2 separate regions of the Homo sapiens genome follow, and region 1 is linked to region 2. The links are contacts of gene promoters, found by promoter capture Hi-C in blood cells and fetal thymus (Javierre and others, 2016). All regions are on one chromosome and are shown on one strand. Each heading gives the region's core, a stretch centred on a gene start or on the middle of the fragment in contact. The rest is flanking DNA. Distances are from core to core; before and after follow the strand shown.

Region 1 (3,534 bases), core at 157-2,656, 69 kb after region 2:
CACCGTAACTCCACATTTGTGTTTTTCATGCTTGGAGCTTCTGTAGGAAGATGGAGGTTGGCCAAAGTTTCAGTGACTAAAAGTGTGAAATTCATTTAAGTCCATCAAACTCAAACTTGTGCAGGCACCAGGCAGTCACCCTTGATGAAGGCAGCTGGCCAGGCATAAGGGACACAATCCGCAGAGCCAACGAGACCAGAAATGATGCTGGACCACAGAGCGCGTGGACAGTGAGGAGCGGTGAGGCCTGTGCAGAGGGCAGTAGCCAAGCCCAACACAGCTGAGTGCAGCCACGCACAGCCCAGCCACGCCACACCACGCCCAGTCACATCCAGCCCAACACAGCTGAGTGCAGCCATGCCCAGTCCAGCCACGCCACACCACACCCAGCCACACCCAGCCCAACATAGCCATGACCAACCACACCCAACCCAGCCCAGCCTAGCCACGCCCAGCCCAGCTCAGCCGTGTCCAGCCCAGCCACGCCCAACCCAACACAGCCACGCCCAGCCCTTGGAAGCCACACCCCACTCCCCACACCACACCTGAATACAGGCCTAGTGTTACCAGAACTTCTAATTTTCCAACAGAAATGTGCAATTGGGGTCATTATGTTCAGTTTCCCAGTTTTGAATATAGTTTCAACTATCTTGACCAGCTCTACTGAGGATTATTTGACACAATCAACTGCACATGTAAAAGTGATGATTTGGAAAGCTTCGACCTATGTGCACACCCACGAAACCCTTCCCATGGTCCACGGTGAACCTCGTCACCCACAGCATGTCCTCCTGCCTGTGTCCTCCCACCCCTGTCCCCAGGAACCACCGATGTCACTACAGACAACTGCATTTTGCAGAATTCCATATGAACGAAGTCACATGTATACACGCCTTCTTTCACGCAGCATAATTATTTTCACGTTTGATTTTGTCATGTGTTTCAAAATTCCACTCCTTTTTATTTCTGCGTTGTATGGATGCACCATGATTTGTTCATCCAATCACTTGTTGGTAGACATTTTGGTTTTTCCCCCAGGTTTTTGCTATCACAAATAAAACTGCTATGGACAGTCATGCATAAGTCCTTGTGTGAACGCGTTTTCATCCCTCTGGGAAGAATTCCTAGGAGTGGAACGGCTGAGTCTCTGGTAGGGGTGTGTCTAGCTTAAGAACCTGCAGGACAGTTTTACAGAGTGGCCGAACCATCTTCCATCCCCCCCAGCAGTGTACGGCAAACTTTCAACAGCACTGCACAGCCCTAAGACGCACATGCCTGTGGGTGCTGCCCAGCCGTGGCTGCCAGCTTGTCTCTGGTCCAGATCACTTCTTGTTCAACAGATGGGGAGGCCTAGGGAGACCACAGGCCATGCCAAAGGTCATGCAGCAGCTGTCAGCTGAGCAAGGCTGGCAGTGGCCCAGGCTGGTCATGCCCCCTCCATGCTGGCAACTGTCTCCACCAAGGCACACTCTGGTGGAAGCTGGAGGCAGGGGACACTACTCTAAGTGGAGTCATCTGAGAGATGCACCGACCACACCTCTTCTGTGTTTCTATCCCCGAGCTCCCAGGGGCCAGGACCACCTGCCCAGGGAGTGCTCATTGTGCCAAGAAGAACATGACCCAGCACAGGGTCACTGCAGGTCCCTAAGCAGAAGGGCTGGCCCGGGCAGGACCCCAAAGGCTCGGTAGCAAGGTGCTCCTCCCGAAAGCTGTGATTCCCGGAGTGATCCGGGCTCCGGGGTGGGACCTCCTGGTGCAGGGTCCTGAGCTTCGCCTATGCCAGGCTTTGGAAGCATCCTCTGAGGGCCCCTTCGGAAGGAGCATTGGGATGAATTAAACAGCAAGGCAGGGCTCGCCTAGTGCATGCTCTGCTGACAAATGCGGTCATTTTTCTCGATTCTGGGAAAGAAGGGATACGGACTTGTTTCGTCTTGCCATGTCTAGAACTCCTCTCGGAGTCTCCAGTTAGTAGGGAGAAGGGAGTGCCGTGGTCTCTGGGTCCTGCTGGCACGTGGAACCCAGTTCTGCAGGGTCTCACACCTGTCCTCTTCTTGTCACCCTCTCTGTCTTTCTCAGCAACTTTTCAGAAGCTTCAGAAGAAGGACGCCGGAGAATGCCCGCCCGGGACTCCGAGGTGCCCTGTGCTCATGGATTGGTCCTCCTGGCTCCATGAGTGTGAGTGAGTGTCTGCAGGTCCCTGGCACAAAAGCTGCAGTGCTGAGCAGGTGGCTAATGGCCCTGGCTGGGTGATTTTGGACAAGTCACCTTTGCCTCTCTGGCCTCCATTGTCCCTCTGTCAAACAGGCCCCACGACAGCAAGCGTTGGTTATTGTGTCTATGGTCAACATCCCACCTGCCTTTCTGGGCAGAGACGTTTGGGAGCAGTGGCTGTATCCCTGAGCACGTCGTAAGGGCACTTTCCTGCATGCCCTGGCTGGAGGGACCTGTTGCTGGGAAAACTCCCCAGAGTGTGAACCGGCGGCGGCTCCACCATCTGGGTGCCGTGGGCATGGTGCATGGCGGGAAGGAGGCCGGCACCACAGAAGGGTGGCAGCTGTCCCCGGAAGGCTCTCCCCTGAGGGCGCCCAGGGCTCCACCGCTAGCCAGCCATCTCCTTGCAGTAAGGCACGTTTCCTCCAGATCCTCTCGGAACTGCCGGGAGTGGCTGCCCCACCCGCCCAGCTCTCCCTGGGTCCTGCCAGGCAGGGAAGCGTGAACCGAGACGGGCTCGGGATGGCTCTCAGGCCCTCCCTGCTCTCAGCACCAAGGGAGGCACCCAGAGACTGATCTGTGGGGGCAACGGAGACTCCGGGTCCCCCCACCAGGATACGTCCCCTTTCTTTGCATCTGATGCTGACACACACATACGAGGAGCCCAGAGGCAGAAACGGGACTCAGAGCCTGACGCTGAGGCTGGTGTGTGGGGCTGCCTCTCCCAGTGCTGAGGCTGGCGTGTGGGGGCTTCCTCTCCCGACACTGAGGCTGGCGTGTGGGGCTGCTTCTCCCGACGCTGAGGCTGGCGTGTGGGGCTTCCTCTCCCGACGCTGAGGCTGGCGTGTGGGGCTTCCTCTCCCGACGCTGAGGCTGGTGTGTGGGGCGGCCTCTCCTGGTGCTGAGGCTGGCATGTGGGGCGGTCTCTCCCGACCTTGAGGCTGGCATGTGGGGCTTCCTCTCCCGACGCTGAGGCTGGCGTGTGGGGCTTCCTCTCCCAACCTTGAGGCTGGCATGTGGGGCTTCCTCTCCCGACGCTGAGGCTGGCATGTGGGGCGCCCTCTCCCGACCTTGAGGCTGGCATGTGGGGCTTCCTCTCCTGACCTTGAGGCTGGCATGTGGGGCTTCCTCTCCCGACGCTGAGGCTGGCGTGTGGGGCGGCCTCTCGGGAGCAGGCGGCCTCGGGGATCCTGGGGGTCAGCAGCCCCTCCACAGCTGCACCTCCCGGGACTGACCCTGCAGAACCCACCTCCCGCCAGCCCCTCCACAGCAGGACAGCACCCGCCTCCTTTTCCAAGGCCGCCTCGCCCAGTGGAGGCTGCA
Region 2 (3,508 bases), core at 550-3,049:
CCCCCTAGGCCAGTGGCCTCCTGGACCAGTCCCCAGCCACATCATCACCCCCCCCCAAGTGGGAAGCCCCTCGTCAGAGATCAGAGACAGTGAGGTCTCTCCTGCCACCAGTGACAGACAGGCCCGCTTAGACCTGGGTGTTTCCTGGAGTGCTCCTGTCTCAGGATCTGCAGAGCTCCGCCTCAGGGTGCTGCAAGGAAAGCTCTGGACAAGCGCACACCCGACCCCAGCTTACCGTAGAGTTGCCGTTAGTGCAGGAATGCTGCTGAGGAATGTAAAGAAAATTACAACGAATATGAAAACCAGAAGGAGGGGCTTTCTCTGACAAGTTGAAGTGCATTTCCCTGCAGTGGCATGGCCAAAACCAGAGGAAAGATTCTGAGGGATACAGCTACAGTCTCGGTACACCTGGGAAGCCCAACAATAGCTCCGATTACAAGGGGAAGGCACGGGGGCCCCTTCCCAGGGTCCAGGGGAGGACAGGGGCGGTAGGCAGCGGCTCCACTCACCTTCTGGCCGTCCACATTCGTCTCCGTGGCTGCAGGGCACCCTGCGTGGCACAGTGAGAAGTACATGAGGCCGTCCGAGCCGCACACAGGGCTGTAGTGTTCTGGCTGGCAGCTGCAGGCAGCGTTGCAGGGAGCCGTTAGGTTCAGGTGGCCTTCGGGCAGGAGGCTGCAGAGGGGGGACAAGCGAGTGGTAGGGTCCAGGCCAGAGCCATGCTGGCGCCCAGCAGGCACAGGGTCAGCCATGGGGCTCGTCCCCATGCAGCCTGCATTTCGGGTCTACAAACTTGCCAAGCTTGCACCGCCCCCAGCACGCTGGGCACTCACACTGGGCACTGCCTTCTGGTGATAGAATGGTTTTTCCTCCTCACGCAAGGAAGGCACACCCATGCCCCCCAGCACCGTCCGCCTGATGCACAGCCCCTTTCCCTAGTTCATTTGTTTTTGGACAGGCAACACATTCATATGGATCAAATACAAACATTAGGAAAGAAAAAGCGCCAAGTACACAAAGGCAGCCTCGTGGCCCCAGCCCCACCCCAGTCCTCGGTTCTCCAGCCACAGGCCGGCTGTGCATTTGCAGGGGTCGTCTGCACGTACACGCCCCTCGGCAGTCACAAACATCTGCACTTCTCACTTGAATCAGAGCACACTGCGCCCATTGTCCAACTCCTTCCTTTTTCCCACTTCACAGTATGTCTTGGCAGTGGCCCAGGATGAGCTTCCTCCACTCCTTTGTGGGCAGGGCCTCTGTTGTGAGGACAGCGTAGTGACCCCGTCCACCCTGATGACTCTTAGGTTCCGATAATGCCACAACGGCTGCTTTGTGCTTCTCGGCCTTGCACGGCACCTGCAGGTGCACTCCCGGGGCCCGCAGGGCAGGGCCGAGGTGCAGGCTACCTACGTGTATTTTGGATATTCCCTAATTGCCACCTGACCAGCAGGTGTCCCTCCCACTCCCAGCACATGGCAACTCCAGGAGCACATCCTGGGACACTTTTTATGTCACCGAGAGACCAGCCTCAAGGACCCCGAACACTAGGGCTGTTGTTCCATTTGACACAGCTACAGAGCAGAGTGCTGAGGCCCAGAGAGGCATATGACTGCCCGGGGGCACAGCCGGGACCCAAGCGCAGGCACTGCTGGGGGCTGGCATGGTGCCTTTTCACGTGGATGCTGCCGGGTGCCCTGCTGAGCGGGTGTTGCCCTTGCCGCTGTCCTGTGACGTAGCCCTTTTCAAAACCACCTCTCCCAAGTGCTGCACCACTCCTCCTCCATGCCCAGGGACCGCGGGTGCTTGGGGCCCCGACGCGTACCCAGGTGCCATCTGGCCCTCACCTCCCGCCGTAGCTGGCTGTGACGCCCGCCATGGGCACACTGGGGCAGTGCAGTGAGAAGACGAGGATGCCCAGCAGGCTGACAACGGTGCAGAACAGGCAGAACTTGATGACCGCGGAGCCCCGGAGCCTGAGCTTGTTCACAAAGAAGCCGCCCAGGAAGGTGCCGCCACCACCCGCTGGCACCACCAGGTACCCTGGGGAGAGGGAGGGATTCAGCCAGGGACTCAGGCAGGGGGCCGTGGTGGGAGAGGGTGGTGGATCAGCCGGGTCCACTTTACAGGTGGGGAAACTGAGGCATAGAGGGATCAATTCCTGCCTGCATGGCAGCACTCAACACCACACCTGAGTGCTTAGCTGTTGCGCTGATAGAGCCCTAGGAGGGACCTCTGTCCAGAGCCCACAGCGGGGATGCCTCAGAGGGGAAGGGGAAGGGGAAGGGGAAGGGGAAGGGGGAGCGGGGGGGCGGGGCGGGGCGGGGGGAGGAGGAGAGCCCAGAGTGCTCCAAGGTCAGCGGCCCCTGCCCCAGTGGGAAGCCAATGACTCCTCCACTGACCCCCCTCCAGGGCAGCCACACCCCCTCCTCCCCCAGGGGCCTCTGCCGAGTCCCTGCAGGCTGTGACAAGGACATTTGTCGAAGCCTGAGTGGCCACCAACAGTAAAAAATTGCGATTAGCTGGCATCTAGCTTCTGGGCTGACAAGTGAGGAGGGCACAGGTGAGGGGACAGGTGGAGAGGGGACAGGTTTGGGGGGACAGGTGGGGAGGGGACAGATTTGGGGGGACAGGTGGGGAGGCTCTCCAAGGGGCAGTAGAGCTGACCTCTGGGGGGCTGTTGAGTGTGGGAATGTGGGCTTGTGAGGTCAGCCCAGAGGGGCCAGGCCAGGATGGGCCTGTGGGGGAGGGAGGGGAGCCCTCATCTGATGCCCTCTTCCTGTCCAGATAGTGGACCCTGGAAGGGTAGAGCGCGGTAGATTGGCGGTGGTGGCCCACATGCCTGGCACCTCTGCCATGGCCCAGGGTACTCTGTGAACGCTGGCAGGAGGAGCAGCTCTGAGGAGGGGTCCCCACTTTCTGCAGACCTGCCCAGCCTGGGAAGGCCAGCCTGCCTCTGGCACCGAGAAACCCCCAGCTGCACTGTTCCAGGAGGTCCTGAGGCACCAGTGCCTGGCTCATGGAACAGCCAGGTCCAAACCCTTCCTGCACCAAGTCACAGAAGCCAAGACTAGGTGGCTAGGGGGTGGAGCCCACCGTGGACCCTTCCACCTACGGAGCATGTCCCACAAAGAGGGCAGGACCACCACTCTCCCGGCCTGTGGACAGAGTCGCTCAGCCCCCGTGGCGCTCTCCACACCTGCTCTGGCAGCGGGGGTGGGAGGGCACTCACTGCCATGTGCCCTGTCTGGGTCTTTCTAGAAGATGCCCTTGAAGACTCTGTTTCTGAGAACTGACATAAAAGCAGAGGACCCCCAAGATTCAGTTTTCTCACCAAACAAGGTGGCAGCTTCTGAGGCACTCAGGCTGAACTGGGACTCCAAGAACTTGGGGCTGAACGTGGACATGCCGGTGATGAGAGTGGCCTCGGTGGCCCCGGCCAGGCAGAGCAGGATGAACGTGGGGTTCTTCAGCAGGAGCCAGATGGAGCTGGGCAGAGGTGGGGGTGTGG

The links. The method cuts DNA at HindIII sites, captures the fragments that hold promoters and counts their contacts. A CHiCAGO score of 5 or more calls a contact.
Region 1: a fragment that was not itself captured here is called in contact with the fragment with the promoter of SLCO4A1-AS1 in region 2 in 1 of 17 cell types (monocytes); the score reaches 5.8 in monocytes.

What each region holds. Positions count from the first base shown.
Region 1 is chr20:62,595,761-62,599,294 of GRCh38, reverse strand. LINC02970 (long intergenic non-protein coding RNA 2970) reads left to right here. Exons shown (of 2, transcript NR_184037.1): 2 at 2,077-3,534. Among named protein-coding and RNA genes, the nearest start is that of LINC02970, 5.9 kb to the left of the region's middle. The HindIII fragment of the contact is 1,373 bases long and covers 720-2,092 here.
Region 2 is chr20:62,664,912-62,668,419 of GRCh38, reverse strand. It overlaps SLCO4A1-AS1 (SLCO4A1 antisense RNA 1), which reads left to right and starts at 1,799. Exons shown (of 4, transcript NR_024470.1): 1 at 1,799-2,035; 2 at 2,410-2,560; 3 at 2,923-3,496. SLCO4A1 (solute carrier organic anion transporter family member 4A1) reads right to left here. Exons shown (of 12, transcript NM_016354.4): 6 at 3,332-3,486; 7 at 1,845-2,040; 8 at 510-675; 9 at 236-408. The HindIII fragment of the contact is 12,915 bases long and covers 804-3,508 here.